Linked DNA regions of Homo sapiens: regions 1, 3 and 4 are each linked to region 2. Evidence: promoter capture Hi-C in 16 types of primary human blood cells and fetal thymus (Javierre and others, 2016). All regions are on one chromosome and are shown on one strand. The core of a region is centred on a gene start or on the middle of the fragment in contact, and the rest is flanking DNA. Distances in the headings are between cores, read along the strand shown. Region 1 has its middle 51 kb from the start of PPEF2. Region 2 holds the start of ODAPH (odontogenesis associated phosphoprotein). Region 3 overlaps PPEF2 (protein phosphatase with EF-hand domain 2). Region 4 holds the start of LOC105377284 (a long non-coding RNA gene).

Region 1 (4,411 bases), core at 247-2,746, 300 kb before region 2:
GCCTAAATCCTCTAAGTGGCTTCCCCAAACCCACAGCATAAAGTCTAAGTCTTTAATATGGAATGCCAGGCCCTTCACAAGCTGACTCCTGCCTGCGCTCCCATCTCATCCCTGCCCCTTATGCTCTAGCACAACACACTGCTCCTGATTTGGGCTTTTTGCTCACATTATTCCCCTCTCTGGCACACAGTCCCTCAGATACCAATGATCTATTTGTCTTTATCTTACTTGACCTATCAGTAGCATTTGACAGTTCAAATTACCATTCTCTCCTTTTTTTTTTTTTTAACTACCTGACAGCTTTCTCAGTCTCAGCTCACTGCAACTTCCGCCTCCCAGCTTCAAGCGATTCTCCTGCCTCAGCCTCCTGAGTAGCTGGGATTACAGATGCGTGCCACTGTGCCCGGCTAATTTTTGTATTTTTAGTAGAGACGAGGGTTTCACCATGTTGACTAGGCTAGTCTTGAACTCCCGACCTCAGATGATCCACCGACCTTGGCCTCCCAAAGTGCTGGAATTACAGGCGTGAGCCACCGCGCCCTGCCAGGCTGTTTTTCAACCTCTTTTTTCTTCTATCTTCATTCACTCCTTTGTTGATCTCATCCAGTCTCTTTTTTTTTTTTGAGACTGAGTCTCGCTCTGTCGCCCAGGCTGGAGTGCAGTGGCGCAATCTCGGCTCATTGCAGGCTCCGCCTCCCGGGTTCAAGCCATTCTCCTGCCTCAGCCTCCCGAGTAGCTGGGATTACAGGTGACCGTCACCACGCCTAGCTAATTTTTTGTATTTTTAGTAGAGACGGGGTTTCACCGTGTTAGCCACGATGGTCTCGATCTGCTGACCTCGTGATCCGCCCACCTCGGCCTCCCAAAGTGCTGGGATGACAGGCATGAGCCAACACACCCGGCCGATCTCATTCAGTCTCATTGTTTTAAATGCAATCCATATGGTTAAGACTCTGAAGGTTATATCTCCACCCGAGACAACTCCCCTAACACTTAAATATTTAATGAACATCTCAAACTCAACATTCTCCAAATAAGTTCACTATATTTCCCCTACATCTCTTCTTCCCTGGTCTTTTCTAATTAAATATCAATGCCATCCTACCAGTTCACTCAGGTGAAAGACAAAGCAAAAACTAAAACAAAACCCTTGGAATAATACTTGACTTCTCTCCTCATTTCCCACATCTGATCGATCTTGTTGACTTTCCCTTCAAAACACATCTAAAATTGAGCCGTTTTTACTCCCCATTGCTACCACCTTAAAATCATTAGTCCAGTTATTTATTAGTCCATACTATTTCTCACGTGTCCCCAATTCTTCTTTTGCCTCTATTGAAGGGCTTCTCAAATGTTTTCATCTCAGGATCCTTTTATACTCCCAAAAAGTACTGACGATCCCAAAGAACTTTTGCTGATGTGGCTTATATCTATTGATATTTACTGTATTAGAAATTAAAACTGAGAATGGCAAGGCATAGTGGCTCATGTCTGGCACTTTGGGAGGCCAGCTGATAACACATGGAGCAGAAGAATCACCCCAGTTAACTCACAGAATTGTGAAATATCATAGGTGGTTATTGTTGTTTTAAACCACTAACTTTTGAGGTATTTGTTATGTAGCAGTAGATAACTCAAAACATTGACAATCCAAGGAATTAAAGTTTAGTTGTATTAATCAAAATAGAAGGATAATTTCAGGAAGGGCTCATACTTCCCAGAAACGATCTTTTCTGAGAAAATGCTAATAGTCATAAAAGAATTTCTCTGTTTTAGCATTTTTGACATGTCTTCAAGTTGTAAATAAGTGTTTTAGGTTTTGGTTATTTATTTATTTATTTATTTATTGAGACAGTTTTCGCTCTTTTTGCCCAGGCTGGAGTGCAATGGCCCGATCTTGGCTCACTGCAACCTCCACCTCCCGGATTCAAGCGATTCTCCCTCCTGCCTCAGCCTCCTGAGTAATTGGGTTTACAGGCATGTGTCACCATGCCCAGCTAATTTTGTATTTTTAATAGAGATGGGGTTTCTCCATGTTGGTCAGGCTGGTCTCGAACTCCCAACCTCAGGTGATCCACCCGCCTTGGCCTCCCAAAGTGCTGGGATTACAGCTGTGAGCCACCGTGCCCGGCCTTGTTTTGTTTTTTTAAAAAAACAATTATTACTAATGCTGGACATAGAACTCACATGCAGACATAATTAGGGTTTCATAAATCTCTAAAGACCATTATTTTATTTTGTTTACTTATTTATTTGAGATAGAGTTTTGCTCTGTCGCCCAGGCTGGAGTGCAATGGCACAGTCTCAGCTCACTGCAACCTCTGCCTCCCGGGTTCAAGCGATTCTCCTGCCTCAGCTTCCTGAGTAGCTGAGATTACAGGCACCCACCACCACACCCAGCTACTTTATTTGTACTTTTAGTAGGGATGGGGTTTCACCATGTTGGTCAGGCCGGTCTCGAATTCCTAACGTCAGGTGATCTACCCGCCTCAGCCTCCCAAAGTGCTGGGATTACAGGCATGAGCTACTGTGTTCAGCCATAAAGACCATTATTTTAAATTTGAGTGTTTATTTCTATAGAACTCAAAACCTCCTTTAGTCTGCATTTTAATTATTAAAACAAAGGGATAAAGTTTTTAATCCCTGTGTTAGTGTCTTGAAATATTTCTCAGTCACAGACTCAGAGACTGTTAAGAATTATAAGGAATTTCAGATATTAAGTACAACCTCTAAAGCATTTCTCTGGAGAAAAACCTCGAAAGATACACGTGTCCTCCAGGCTTTGTGGAAATGCTCCAGGGTAGAGGTCACTGCTCCTACAGGCAGCCTAGTTCTGTATGTGGAGAGATATATGAATTAGAAAGGTTTTTTTCTGTTAACTTTTATACCAGGCATCGGCCTGGTATAAGAATGTGGAGTCAGAAGATTTGGATTTCAGTTCCTGGCTGTAGGATCTAGGTTATCTGAGCTACAGTGGCCACCCTGAGCTTCTGCGACTCTGCTTTTCAGGAGCAGGGGGAAGCTCTACCTACCTACATCAGTGTGTCGAGATTTCTGGGGGCGTGGGGGGATGGGTGGGGGAGATGCTGATTAACATACACAAAAAGACACAGAATTGTCATTGACATAACCCTCATCTTAGTCTTAAACTAAATGATACAGAGCTGAATCTCTTTATTACTATTGATTGATCATAAACTGGTTTATTTTTCTCACAGATGAAGATAATTTTAGACATGATTTTTTTGTAAACAGATTAGTTATTAGATTTCATTTTAATTTTTTTAACTCTTTTTTTAAAGACAAAGTCTCGCTCTTGTCCCCCAGGCTGGAGTGCAATGGTGCAAACTCGGCTTACTGCAGCCTCCGCCTCCCGGGTTCAGAGCTCCCGAGTAGCTGGGATTACAGGCGCCTGCCACCACGCCTGGCTAATTTTTGTATTTTTAGTAGAGATGGAGTTTCACCATGTTGGCCAGACTGGTCTCGAACTCCTCACCTCAGGTGATCCGCCCACCTCGGCCTCCCAGAGTGCAGGGATTACAGGCGTGAGCCACTGCACCCGGCCTAGATTTCATTTTAATTTTTGAACTGTTTTAAACACACTTGGTTTTTTTTTTCTGTTCTGTAAATTAATTTTTATGGTTCTATTTATGGCAAATGATATTGATTTCTCTATTACAGTATTGAGGTAATACTATCTTTTTTTTTTTTTTTTTTTTTTTTTTTTTTTTTTGAGACGGAGGACGGAGTCTCAATCTGTTTCCCAGGCTGGAGTGCAGTGGTGTGATCTCAGCTCACTGCAACCTCCGCCTCCCGGGTTCAAGCGATTCTCCTGCCTCAGCCTCCTGAGTAGCTGAGATTACAGGCGTGTGCCATCACACCTGGCTAATTTTAGTATTTTTAGTAGAGACAGGGTTTCGCTATGTTGTGGCTGGTCTCGAACTCCAGACCTCAAGCGATCCGCCCACCTCAGCCTCCAAAAGTGCTGGGATTACAGGCGTAAGCCACTGAGCCCGGCCGTGTTTTCTTTTAAAATAAAATTATCTAGAGTTTGAAAATCTCTTTGTCTTGCAGATAAAGTACAAACTCTGTGACCCAGCCTGTGCCATATGTGCAGTCTCAAAACTCTTTCTAGACACTTGGATCTTCCTGCAGCCTGCAAACACACCACTCCTCTCACATTCTGTTTCCCCTCCCTGAGTTGCCCTCCTTCCTGTGGGCCTGGCCTTTATTCTTCAAGACCCAGCTTCAACGCCCTCCCCTCTGTGCAGCCTTCCCTTGACTGCTTCCTCCTCACTGCCTCCTCTCGGGCACCAGCTTGCCTTATGTTGCTCAAGGTAGAGCCTGAATCACCCACTCATTGCAGTGACTGGCGTGCATGCCGGCGGCCTCCACTGCTCTGCGAGTTCCC
Region 2 (4,598 bases), core at 462-2,961:
GTGAACGAGCGATGAACTGGAAGCAGGGGCTGCTGGGATAGAATGAAGCTACATTTGAAGGACTTCGAGGGATTGTAGGGAAAAGTGAGCCAAATTCGGAAATCAAATCTGGTGTTTCAATGGGTGTTTTGTTTTTTGAGACAGAGTTTCACTCTTGTTCCCCAGGCTGGAGTGCAATGGCACGATCTTGGCTCATGGCAACCTCCACCTCCTGGGTTCAAGCGATTCTCCTGCCTCAGCCTCCCGAGTAGCTGGGATTACAGGCATGCACCACCACACCTGGCTAATTTTGTATTTTTTGTAGAGATGGGGTTTCTCCATGTTGGTCAGGCTGGTTTTGAACTCCCGACCTCAGGTGATCTGCCCACCTCGGCCTCCCAAAATGCTGGGATTACAGGTGTGAGCCACTGTACCCAGCCTCAGTGGGTGTTTTTAAGATGTGAATAAAATAAATCTCTAATCTCATTATAACTTGTTTAGCTATGTGTTTACAAAGCCTCCTGAAGAGCGGTTCACTTTTTGCAGAGAAAGTGGCAGGTGGCTAGTTTTGTTTTATGATGCTTCTTTTAGATGTCACTTTTAGTAGGTGAGGCTTGGGGGCCTTGCCTTGGGATATGGGGGCAGGTTTTGTTCATAATCTATGCCCTGTCCCCTGATTGCCAGAGTGTGTGCAGAGGTTGGATCAGGGGGTTTCTGAGTGTTCCACAACCAGCTCTTATGTCTCTCCCCTCCTCCTGTCTATTGTGAGCTCTGAGGGATGGGAACGGGGAATCTGTCTGGGGATGAGCAGGGTTTGGCTGAGCCCCTGCAAAGCCCCCTACCCAAGACATGTGAAAGGGGTGAAGTGCTCTGTTTGACTCCTAGGTCCATCTTCCGTAAACAGCATCTAGTTTTGGAATTAAAATAAACTGAAGAAAAGGTTAGATCTAGGCTCCCCAAGATTTCCTCCCCTTGTATTTCCCTCTTTTCATCCCTTCCCCAGCCTTTTCTTTCCTTTTCCTAGGGGTTTGCAAACCAATTGTAAGGCTCAGGACACATTTTGTAGTGGGAACAAAGAAAGAGAATAGGAACAGTTGAGAAATGGAATCTAATAAAATCCTAAAGAAAGAAACCTGTGCCCACCTCTGTGGCACCAAAATGCAGCTCAATAGATGTGATTAATTAAAGCAATGAACAAAGACTAAATACCCACCATGTGCAAATTAATATGCTGCTGGAGATAGAAAGTGGACAGTGCTGTAATTCAAAGTGGAATTGTTAGCTTTGTAACCATAATAACTAGTATTTGTACAGTGTTTTTAGCTTGAAGAGTTTTTCACAGATGATAGCTCATTTGGTCCTTGCAAACCCCATAACGATGGATATTGTTAATGTTGTCACTTCACATATGAGGAATCTGATACTCAGAGATTTTAAGTGTGTCTAAAGTCACAGAGCTATTGCTGAGACGAGGACCAAGGTCTTCAGGTGACAAAATCCAACTTCCTTCTCTTTAACCACACAGGCTGATGGAAGCTGAGGTAAATATTTCCAATTTATGGGAACGTATAATCATGGAGCCAGTTTTGTCTTTTCCTACAACTTATTAATTAGTGGACCCACAGTAGAATAAAAGCAAAACCCTTACCTTCTGCCACAGTTACCACCAACCAGCATACCAGTAACCAGTAGGAGAAGCAGTGTCTGCGAGCCATGGCTTCTACTGAGCAGTCACTGCGTTGAACCTGATGTTGCTTTAAAGGGGAGCTGGTGAGTCACCAGCAGCCTGATTCAGGTAATTTGCATTTGCACAGTGGACCACAGAGATCAGGGCTTGCGGTGTGAGGGTAAGAAATCAGCAAGGAAATACCAGACAGTATTTGTCAACCAGAAGCTTCTTGGAATGACAGCCAGATATCAATCATCTCCCCCCAGAGGGGGATTTTGGACAACCGCACCTTCACCATCCTTCTAATCTCTCAAATCTTCTCCCATGTTAGTGCCTTTTAGTTGTGTATATCAGTCTTCCTCTGCAAGAGAAATAAGCTGTCCAGAAATATGCAACAGTGCTTCTCTCTGTGCAGCTTACCTACTTAAAAAGCGAAACAAGAGGGAGAGGGCATTACCCGGAGGCTTCCTGACCCCGGTGGTTTGCAGTGGAGAGTTGGGGATCATTCTTAGGCCCCCAACCAGGGTTTATGCTGCTTCTCTGCTCTGCTTTTGTCCAGGAGGTGAGGGCAGCAGAATCAGAAAGTGATCTTCCCTAGTGGTCATGATGGTCACTGTCTAAACAAACATAAACATTGGGAGAGTAACTTAGTGAGTCGTCCTTTCACGGCTCCTCCTGATTCACCATATTGCATATAAAATGGACATGACATGTCTATGTCCAGTTGGTTTCCTGAGAGAAAGACTTCATCAGCTGCTGGATATATGAGAGGGGATTGTCACAGGTGATTAAGAACATGGACCTTGGAGTCAGGTAAAATTCCAGTCTTTGTTCCTTTTCTTACTAGCTGAGTGACTGTGGTGAGTCCCTGAGACTTGCTGAAGCCTCAGGGGCCTCACCTGTAAAATGGGACTTGTGGTACTACCCTCAGAGGAATTTGTGAATTAAGGAGATGCTTTTAAAAAAAATTTTTTTTAAATTTCAATCTTTTGGGGTACGAGTGGTTTTGGGTTACATGGATGGACTCTATGGTGGCGAACTCTGAGATTTTAGTGCACTCGTCACCCGAGCAGTGTACACTGCACCCAATATGTAGTCTTTTATCCCTCACCTCCTTCCCAACCTCCCCCACCCCTAGCCTCTAAAGTCCATTATATCATTCTGTATGTCTTTGTGTCCTCATAGCTCAGCTCCCACGTATAAGTGAGAACATACGATATTTGGTTTTCCATTCCTGAGTTACTTAACTTGGAATAATGGCCTCCAGCTCCATCCAAGTTGCTGCAAAAGACATTATTTCATTTTTTTATGGCTGAGTAGTATTCCATGGTGTATTTCTACCACATTTTCTTTATCCACTCGTTGGTCGATGGCCACTTAGTTGGTTTCATATCAAGGAGATAATTGACATACAGCTCCAACCACAGTGCCTGGCCTGTGAAAGGGAGTGTTTGTGATTGTCATTAAATTATAATAATCCCAACTGATAATTTATTCTCTTAGGAGGCTGTACTTGCCAAATCAGTTAATCACTGGAAAGACCTCCACTTTAAGCAGAACATTTTCCTGGGTATCATGGAAAAAAAAAAAAAAAAAAAAAAAGAACAAACTAAACATGGTCCCTGTCTTTGAAGGACTGACAATCTAACAAGAGAGGCTGTGCAAACTGAAAGTCTAAATGAATAAGGATGCAAACACTCACAGATAGAAAATGGAAAGTTCCTCAGGCTTGATGTTAGTCCTAGGCAAACTTCCAGAACAGATAATCAGATGGATGATTTGTCAGCAGTTTGAAAAGGAATCAGGAAACATCCAGGACAAATTGAGTTCCTTAGACTACCCATTCATTCAATAATTCTGTATTGACTTTTATTTATTCAGTGTCAGACACTGGTCAAGGTGCTGGGGCTAAAGATAAGATTCCTGCTCTCATGGAACTTATAGTTTAGGAGACATTAAAAATTAACTCAGGAATAACAATAAAGCGTTTTGAGTGCTAAGAGAGGGGAAGGACTGAAGGCTATGGGAGAACGAAGCAGACAAACACAGTCTGTAATTTTACATCAACGGGTCAGTATCACATATGCTACTTTGTCCCCTGCATTGTAAATACACCACAATGCCAATAGAATTAGATTCACATAATCACTTCAGCCACTGCCTGGTGTTTCATTTTATAGATTTACTGTAATTTATTTAACCAAACTTTTAACTGATGGACATTTCTATTACTTCTTCTGATTCTCTTTCTTTTTTGTTTTGGAGTGCTAATGAGCTTTCATCTTAAATGTTGATGAAAATAAATAACAAAAGCAAAATAACTTATTTTTTCATTCAAATCTGTTGTTCTGAAGTTTATAAAATAAAGGAACAAAATTTTAAAAGGAATACATTTTTTTTTCTTTTGAGATGGAGTGTCATTCTGTTGCCCAGGCTGGAGTGCAGTGGCACCATTTGGCTCACGGCAACCTCTGCTTCCTGGGCTCAAGCAATTCTCTTGCTTCAGCCTCCCGAGTAGCTGGGATTACAGGGCTACTCAGGAGGCTGAGGCATGAGGGTGTGCCACCACACCCAGCTAATTTTTTTGTATTTTTGGTAGAGACGGGATTTCACCATTTTGGCTAGGCTGGTCTCGAATGCCTGACCTCAGGTGATCTGCCCACCTCGACCTCCCAAAATGCTGGGATTACAGGTGTGTGCCACCGCGCCTGGCCAAGGAACACAATTTAAAAAAATTTTATCAAATTCTTATCCAGCAGAAAATTCCAACATTTCTTTGTTATTAGTGTATAGAATAACTAAGTCTCGGCATATCTTATGTCTTTGTATGTTATATATACAGTGGAGCCAAGTGTTTCCCAACATGTAAAATCAATGAAACTGTTGTGAAGTTATCAGATTCATTTGCCAAAAATCCTCATACCTTAAAAATATGAAAATATTTCTGAAA
Region 3 (4,446 bases), core at 87-2,586, 310 kb before region 2:
TTGAGCCCAGGAATTCCAGACCAGCCTGGGCAACATGGCAAAACCCCATCTCTACAAAAAATTCAAAAATTAGCCTGATGTGGTGGCGTACTCTTGTAGTCCCAGCTACTTGGGAGGCTGAGGTGGGAGGATGGCTTGAGCTTGGGAGGTAGAGTTTGCAGTGAGCCAAGATTGTGCCACTGCCCTCCAGCCTGGGTGACAGAGCAAGGCTGTCTCAAAAAAACAAGAAAAACAAAAAGAAGAAGAAGAAATTATTCTCCATGGCTGCGTCTTGGGTAAAGTCTGCTTACTAAACCACTAAGTCTTTCTGAGGTTACTCTTCTATTTTCTCTCATCTTTAACGGGTTTGTGTTACCCCTACAAGCCACAGCCAGAGGTTCTTTCACTGTCTGGAGATTTTGCAGGTGAAATTCAGTGCACAGATTTGTTAATGAGGCCCGTTTCTTTCTGGAAGGAAGCATATAATACTACTCGAATGGTAGATTTTGGCCGGGCGCGGTGGCTCACGCCTGTAATCCCAGCACTTTGGGAGGCTGAGGCGGGTGGATGATTGGAGGTCAGGAGTTTGAGACTGGCCTGGCCAACATGGTGAAACCCTGTCTCTACTAAAAATACAAAAAAATTAGCCAGGCGTGGTGGTACACGCCTGTAATCCCAGCTACACGGGAAGCTGAGGCAGGAGAATTGCTGGAACCCAGGAGGTTGGAGGTTGCAGTGACCCGAGATCGCACCACTGCACTCCAGCCTGGGCGACAGAGCAAGCCTCCATCTCAAAAATAAAATAAAATAAAGTAAAATAAAAATAAATAAATAAATAAATAAATAAATGGTAGCTTTTGAGATGATTCTGAGTTCTTAGTTGAGAGATTACAACCACAAAATGTTATAAAGAATTTATATGGGTAGCCTCACAGTAAATTTATGCAACAGATATTGTTATTAATTTCAGTTTTGTAGAAGAGATTATTAAAGAACCGATGTTAAATCATCTGACCTGTGGTCACACAGCTAGTCCTTGAGTGAAGGTAGTCCTTGACCGAGGCAATTCTATTTCAGAACCCACACTTTTAATGTCTATGCAATATTGCCTCCTACAACGAAGATGGCCTCAGAGTATATAAGATGCTAACAGATACAGTTTTAGTGCTATTGAACATGCTTCTTTAAGTATTCAGCCTAACAGAGTTAGAAATTAAGATCGGCAAAACTAGCATAAATCAGGTGGATAGAGAACATGTTAGTATTTAGCATTTACCCTTGTGTGAGTGCTGTAAAAGTGCATTATTTTAAATCATTCTCAAGTTATTAAATATAGGCCAGCCTCACTTAAAAAGAAGAATTATGTAAAAATATAAACCTACCAAGTGAATGTCAGACCTACTGTGCAGCAAAATCATCTTGGAGCTTTATAAAAAATCAGCCATTTGAGCCTCATCCAGCCCTACCAAATTAGAATCTCCAGGGGTGAGCCCTGGTACCTGGAGTGCAGAACTATGATCCCATAGGATTTAGGGGTTGTCACTGCAAAAAGAGTCACTCTAGGATTCCCTACAGTAGTAATAGTAATGTAGTAATGTAATAGTAATGTAGGATTCCCTACAGTGAATAGTGTGTTTCAATAAGATAGTCAAAAAGCATTCAACTCTTTGAAACCTTCATTGATTGCATTAAATAAGTACAACATCACCTGATTTACCCAGAAATCACTTATCCAGTGACTTCAACTGTATGAAGCATAATGGAGAACTTAGAAAAAAGGAGGGAAATGTCTCTGAGCAGCCATAATTGATGATGTCTCAATGTCCATAAACCGAAGATAACATCCTTGTTTTTCTTTTTTCTTTTTTTTTTTCTTTTTGTGAGACAGGGTCTCGCTGTGTCACCCAGGCTGTAGTACAGTGGCAGGATGACAGATCACTGCAGCCTCGACCTGCTAGTCTTAAGAGATCCTCCCACTTCAGCTACCTCACACCTGGTACTACAGGCGTGCGCCATCATGCCCAGCTAATTTTTTAAATTTTTTGTAGAGACGAAGTCTCACTATTCTGCCCAGGCTGGTCTCAAACTCCTGAGCTCAAGTGATCCTCCTGCCTTGGCCTCCCAAAGTGCTAGGATTACAGGTGCGAGCCACCATGCCTGGCCTGATAACATGCTCTTCTTAGAGGAATCCTCAGTCAGAGTCCATTTACTTTTTGTTTCAATCCACTTCTCACAATAATAGAGAGCCAGCTTGGAGCCAGCATAGCCAGATAGGTATCTGGCCTCACTCCTTGGTAGCTATGTGACCTCGACCTAATTACTATCTCTGTCTGTAATGGGCATAATGGACTTCATGTTATCGTTCTTTCTTCAATGAGTGTTGAGGGATTTAATGAGATAATCCATGTAGAGCTCTGCATTTAGTAAGTGCTTACTAAGTGTTACTTGACGTAGGGACAGGAAAGCCTTGTACATCCAGATAGCTTTCAAGGGCATTGCCCTACTCCATCCCTGCATAACTCTCCATGACTACAGATTACCAGGAGCAGCTTAAATGCTTTGTCTAACTAGTGGTTCTTAAACTTTTTAGGAGTCCCATACTTCTGTTAGCCTCTGATAAAACAACAAACTGTCTACAAAAAATTCACATATGCTCACATACCTGTGAAATTTGGGGTGAGTTTTAGGTGGTTCACACTTTCTTTTCCTTTTGTAGAGACAGGGCCTTGCTCTGTCACCAAGGCCAGGGTATAGTAGCATGATCATAGATAGCTTACTGTAACCTCGAACTCCTGGGCTCAAGCAATCCTCCTGCCATAGTCTCCCAAGTAACTGAGATTACAGGCATGCACCACCATGCCTGGCTAATTTTTAAAAGTTTTTTTTGTAAAGAAACCCAGCCTAGCTGTGTTGCCCAGGGTGGTCTTGAGCTCCTGGCCTCAAGTGATCCTCCCGCTTCAGCCTCCCAAAGTGCTGGGATTATAGGCATGAGCCACCATGCCTAACTGGTTCACAGTTTTTTGTGTTTTTTGAGACAGGGTCTCATTCTGGTTGTCCAGGCTGGAGTGCAGTGGCATGATCTTGGCTCACTGCAGCCTCGACCTCCCAGGCTCAGGTGATTTCCCCACCTTAGCTTCCCAAGTAGCTGGGACCATAGGCACGTGCCACCATGCCAGGCTAGGTTCACACTCTTCTAAGGATCTATGTAGCCCACTTAAAGACTGTCATGTTAAATGCCTTCAATTGCAGTAAGATTTTCATCAAACATGATTTAATTTTTTTTAACTTTTAACACGGGAAAAGATAGGTTATCTGGTCATTATTTATAGAATGATTGGTTCCTCAATAAGACATTACAAGTAACGTATGCTTACCTTTTATCTCTTTTTATATTCTTTTTTTTTTTTTTTTTGAGACAGGGTCTTACTTTTTCACCCAGGCTGGAGTGCAGTGGTGTGATCTTGGCTCACTGCAGCCTCTACCTCCTGGGTTCAAGTGATCCTCCCACCTCAGCCCCACAAGCATCTGGGACTACAGGGACACGCCACCACGCCTGGCTAATTTTTTTTTTGTACTTTGAGTAGAGAGGGGGGTTTTGCCATGTTGCCAAGGCTGGTCTCGAACTCCTGGGCTCAAGGAATCCACCCACCTTGGCCTCCCAGAGTGCTGGGATTACAGGCATGAGCCACCACGCCAAGCCTCTTTTTATATTCTTGTTCATTCAACTACAGATATTTATTGAGCACTTACTTTGGGCCAAGTACTGTGCCCAGCATTACTCTATTGACCCAATAAGAATGAAAAAACTAAACTAGTGTTATTTTGTTATTCATAAATTTTGCCTTCTGTTTCACATGATAATAAATTACAAGAAATGCACAACAGTTGTGATAATAGATACTATTTGGTGAGTGCTTTCTATGTGCCAGGCTTTCTTCTAAGTGCTGTACATGAAATTACTCATTGTAATCTTCACAATAATCCTGTGAAGTGGAGACAGGTACCATTTTAATCACTGTTTTACAGGTGGGAAAACTGAAGCAAAGGATGATTAGATAACTTTACCACAGAGGTGATCCTTCTCCAGAACTTCTTCTCTAACCACTGTCCCATACCAGGAAGGACAGCGGCATTCCCCATACTCATCCTGTTTGTGTACAACAGGGAAGAGTAAAGGCGCTCTCCCTCGAAAACTGAGCTCTTGGGAGACTGATATGTTAAGAAAGAGAGAGTGGAAATATAGTAAAATCTCTAAGTATTTTTTCTATACCAGTGTGTTAAAATGTCGCTTTTCATCTCCTGTCCCAGGATTAGCAGAGTGGAGGAGTCGGCTCTGAGAGCTCTGAGGGAGAAGCTGTTTGCTCATTCTTCAGATCTTCTCAGTGAATTTAAGAAGCATGATGCAGATAAAGTCGGTAAGAATGATCAAGTTAAAGATTCACAGAGGAAGGAAGCTAGCCAGAAAAT
Region 4 (4,746 bases), core at 1,610-4,109, 270 kb before region 2:
GTTACTAAGTGAATAAATAAGTGGGGTAGGATGGCGACTGTTGGGTGTATTGATGGTAGGGTTGTCCTGCAGCCCCTGTCTCTCTCCCATCCCACCTTGTCTCTGCTTCATCCTACTCTGCAGATACACATTCTCTACTTCTCTGTGTACTCATCTGGTGAAGACATCTACTCCACAGCTCTCAGCCCACATCTTCCTGGTTAAAGAAGCCAGACCGGACTGAAAAAGAATACAGATATGAATTTCCCTCGTCTAGTCAACTATAGCCAAGATAGAAACATTTTAGAAAACAAAAGACAGAGTTTACTTACAAAGAAAGAGGGAGTTAGACTTTGGAAAAACAGACTTTTCAAATTAGAAAACAAAAACATATATTGTATATGTATATATTATATATATGTGTGTATATATAAATATATATAATATATATAGATATATATTATATATTGATATATATATTATATATAGATATGTTATATATTATATATATAATATATGTTATATATTATATATATAGATATATATATTATATATATCTATATATAGATATATATATTATATATATCTATATATAGATATATATTTTTTTGACAACGTCTCACACTGTTTTCCAGGCTGGAGTGCAGTGACATGACCATGGCTCACTGTAACCTCAAAATCCTGGGCTCAAGCAATCCTCTTGCTTCAGCCTCCTAAGTAGCTGAGACTACAGGCATGCCCCACCACACCCGGCTAATTTTTGTACTGTTAGTAGAGACAGGGTTTTGCCATGTTGGCCAGGCTGGTCTTGAACTCCTGACCTCAAGTGATCAACCTGCCTTGGCCTCCCAAAGTGCTGGGATTACAGGCATGAGTCACCATGACCGGCCCCAAACAAACATTTAAAGGAAAAAAAACCCCTCAAAGTTACCAAGATTATAATAGTTACATTGGCCAGCTTGTGGTGGGGAAACAGCACCATTCCCACATGATTAGCATTGTCACAAAGGTTATGATGTGTCTTCAGACATTCCTTAGCAAAAATCAGAGGTAAAATTATTTTGGTTAGGGAGTTTAGTTTTACAAGAAATAAGTCAAGGTTTTCTTATTTTAGAGATCAGAACTAGTCGGGGTGGTTTTGGTTTATCTCAGGGTGCAAAGCTTTGTTTGTCCTGAATTTGATTTGTAAAGTGCTCAATCATGTTGGAAACAGGGTGAAGTATCAGCTTTTGCTTCTACAAGTTATAAGGTACAAGCACAGCAGCCAGGGCCCATCCCCATGAAAGGAAACAGTTAAGGAGGTCCCTCTGCACCAGACAGGCTTCCAGAAGAAAGTGCTTGCCACTGGCTGGACATGCTAAGCCTGGTTAAGCCTAACGACATAGCCATAGACTTCTATACTGCAGATTCCTGAGTCTCCGTGTTTGACCACTGCTTTTCATAAAGCATTTTCATGCCTGTTCATACAGCCAATCCCCTCATAGCCTGTGAGAATAGTTAACACTTATGAAGCACTTCCTCTATGTGCCAAACAGTTAATGAACCTTTGTTAAGCACCAGGCACTATTCTAACAATGTTGCATGTCAACTGTTAATCCACTTAATTCTCATACTATTCCTGTGAAGGTAAGGTATGATGATTGTCCCTGTGTTATGGATAATAAAATTGAAGTAATTTGCCCAAAGTCACACAGTTTGAAAGTGGTGGAGTTGGAATTTGATCCAAGGTATTCCAGCTCCACAGTCCATACTTTTAACCATTGTCCTAAGTGGCCTCTCCAGAAATGAGTGTTATTCTAATTTTACAGACGAAGGAATAAGCGGTTTGCAGAAATTATGTAACTTGCTCAAAGTCACTATTAGAATTATAATGCAGCCGGGCACGCTGGCTCACGCCTGTAATCCCAGCACTTTGGGAGGCCAAGGTGGGCGGATCACAAGGTCAGGAGCTCGAGACCAGCCTGACCAACATGGTGAAATCCCATCTCTACTAAAAATACAAAAAAAATTAGCTGGGCATGGTGGCGCGCACCTGTAATCCCAGCTACTCTGGAGGCTGAGGCAGGAGAATCGCTGGAACCCAGCAGGAGGTTGCAGTGAGCCTAGATCACGCCATTGCACTTCAGCCTGGGCGACAGAGCAAGACTCCATCTTAAAAAAAAAAAAAAAGAATTATAATGCTGAGATTTTATATTAGGTCTTTTGACTTCCCACCAGGTTTCCTTCAATAATGACAGGAGCAATAACAAAGTTAACACTTTCATATAGGGCTTACCATGTACTATGCACTTTACTTACATGGGCTCATTTCATCCACAGCTCTGTGGCATTCGTATTATTATTACTGCCAGTTTACATGAAGAAGTTGAGGCACAGAGAGGTTAAATAACTTGCCCAAAGCCACACAGCTGGAAAATGGCAGAGTAAGGATTTGAACTCAGGCAGTCTGTTCTCAGAATCTACACTCTTAATTATGACATCACACAGCCTCTCCATGCTGTACACTTGTGTTTCTCAGGGGGAACCAGTAAGGGAAAAGAGGAAAGGGAAGGACACTAACATTTACTGGTTATGCTTCTGTATCCTCTCATAGATTATATTATTGTTGACATTTTCACTGCCCCTCTATATCAGATGTGTCCTTATGGGATTATGCTTTGCATTGATATTAGTTTGGACATGACTTGCTTTGGCCAATGACATGTGAATGGAAATGTTGCCACTTCAAAGCAGAAGTTATAAATGCCACTGTGAGATTCTGCCATCTCTCGTTTGCCTCTGTCACAAGACCTGCCTTTCCCAGAGAGAAGTTGCTGCTTTTTTTTGAGACAGGGTTTCACTCTGTTGCCCAGGCTGGAATGTAACGGCACGATCTCTGCTCATTGCAATCTCTGCCTCCTGGTCCCAAGCGATCCTCCCACCTTAGCCTCCTGAGTAGCTGGGACTATCGGCATGTGCCACCACTCCTGGCTAATTTTTGTATTTTTTTTTTGTAGAGATGGGGGTTTTGCCATGTTGGCCAGGCTGGTCTCCAATTCCTGGGCTCAAGCGATACACCTGCCTCACCTTCCCAAAGTGCTGGGATTACAGGCACGAGGCACTATACCCAGCCAGAAGCTGCTTCTTCAGTGTTGGTCTTGAAATGAAGATTTGGAGCAGAGCCACAGCTGGCATGCCAAAGATATGAATGTGTACAAGAAGTACCTTTGGGTAAGCCACTGAAATTTAAGACTTGTTTGTTTCTACAGCATAACTCAGCCTAAGCAGACTTTTATGTGTGTATTAAAAGTTTAAGGCTGGGCGTGGTGGCTCATGCCTGTAATCCCAGCCCTTCGGGAGGCTGAGGCAGGTGGATCACTTGAGGTCAGGAGTTCGAGACCAACCTGGCCAACATGGTGAAACCCACTCTTAGGCCAGACGTGGTGGCTCACGCCTGTAATCCCAGCACTTTGGGAGGCTGAGGCGGGCAGATCACGAGGTCAGGAGATCGAAACCATCCTGGTTAACATGGTGAAACCCCATCTCTACTAAAAATACAAAAAATTAGCCAGGCGTGGTGGCCGGCGCCTGTAGTCCCAGCTACTCGGGAGGCTGAAGCAGGAGAATGGCGTGAACCTGGGAGGCGGAGCTTGCAGTGAGCCGAGATCGTGCCACTGCACTCCAGCCTGGGCAACAGAGCTTCTGTCTCAAAAAAGAAAAAAGAAATTCAATAATTTTAATCTTCACAATAACCCTATTAGGTAGGTATAATTAGCTCCAGGAAGAAACTAAGATTCTTAGAGGTTTTGTAATTCGCTCAGAAATTTAAAAGTGTAGGAGCAAGGGTTTAGGTTTCCTTCTTCCTAACATAACCCTTGTTTTGTTTATGTATCTATCACCCACCCCGAGAAGTGTGCTTTAAGAGGTGCTGCCCACTCACCTACTACACACCAGGAACGTGAGTGACTAACTGCAATTAGTCAAGGCAATCATGGTGGTTTCATTCCCTTTGACAGTAATAGGTTTGCCAGTAAATGGGTCTGTGAGCCAATTATGACCATAAAACAGGAAGATGCAAATTGAGGATCTGAATGCCAATCCTGCTTCAAATACAATTCTGTCCCTATCAGCACCAGTCACAGGTTTTGGTTGCCAGTAAAACTCATATGATATAACAGACTTCATTCTAATACTTCATTTGTTAACTTTATAGAGTGATACAATACAGGAATACGGAGTGCATAGTATCTTCATGTCGTCTGGAGGCTCAGAGACTACTATGTATACATTTTCTTGGCCTCCATCACCTTTCTAGGGTGTGTATAGCTCCTGAGGAAGATTGAAGTGCCCGGCTTCACTTGGTAGGTCTCTCATCAGTTGTCTGTCTGGGTGCCAACTCATAGCTCTCCCAGTTCACGTGGAGATCCACAGATAGGGGATTTCACAGCAAACAAGGCAGGTAGTCAGTTCCTAGCACAAAGCATTCCTCAACTAGCTTAACTTGGTAGTTGCCAAGGGAACAGTGCTGTGAGAAGGCAGACCCAAGGTCACCTTCCCAGGTAGACCTAAACATGTTCAGAGATGTTAACCCTTACTGATAGGCAGTCGGCTGGAAGCTTCAAGAAAAGATTTCCAGGCCCTCAAAAAGAGACACAGACAATAAAGTCTCACTCCTCTGGACATTTTTGTGTCTGAAGTTGATGCTTGGAACTACATTTTCCTGGCCCATTCAGTTTCCCACACTCCACTCTAAGACATCTATCTTTATAATATCTCCACTTTCATCAA

What was found. The method cuts DNA at HindIII sites, captures the fragments that hold promoters and counts their contacts. A CHiCAGO score of 5 or more calls a contact.
Region 1: a fragment that was not itself captured here is called in contact with the fragment with the promoter of ODAPH in region 2 in 8 of 17 cell types (fetal thymus, naive CD4 T cells, activated CD4 T cells and 5 more); the score reaches 8.1 in fetal thymus.
Region 3: a fragment that was not itself captured here is called in contact with the fragment with the promoter of ODAPH in region 2 in 8 of 17 cell types (activated CD4 T cells, non-activated CD4 T cells, naive CD8 T cells and 5 more); the score reaches 9.5 in activated CD4 T cells.
Region 4: a fragment that was not itself captured here is called in contact with the fragment with the promoter of ODAPH in region 2 in 6 of 17 cell types (naive CD8 T cells, activated CD4 T cells, naive CD4 T cells and 3 more); the score reaches 7.2 in naive CD8 T cells.

Annotation. Positions count from the first base shown.
Region 1 is chr4:75,849,574-75,853,984 of GRCh38, reverse strand. No RefSeq gene overlaps it. Among named protein-coding and RNA genes, the nearest start is that of PPEF2, 51 kb to the left of the region's middle. The HindIII fragment of the contact is 9,603 bases long and covers 1-4,411 here.
Region 2 is chr4:75,553,179-75,557,776 of GRCh38, reverse strand. It overlaps ODAPH (odontogenesis associated phosphoprotein), which reads right to left and starts at 1,711. Exons shown (of 2, transcript NM_178497.5): 1 at 1,628-1,711. The coding sequence starts at 1,694. RefSeq lists a silencer at 1,684-1,978. The HindIII fragment of the contact is 3,725 bases long and covers 1-1,875 here.
Region 3 is chr4:75,867,261-75,871,706 of GRCh38, reverse strand. It overlaps PPEF2 (protein phosphatase with EF-hand domain 2), which reads left to right. Exons shown (of 17, transcript NM_006239.3): 14 at 4,288-4,394. Among named protein-coding and RNA genes, the nearest start is that of PPEF2, 33 kb to the left of the region's middle. The HindIII fragment of the contact is 6,486 bases long and covers 1-4,446 here.
Region 4 is chr4:75,820,612-75,825,357 of GRCh38, reverse strand. It overlaps LOC105377284 (a long non-coding RNA gene), which reads right to left and starts at 2,841. Exons shown (of 5, transcript XR_938891.2): 1 at 2,278-2,841; 2 at 96-219. The HindIII fragment of the contact is 3,434 bases long and covers 1,143-4,576 here.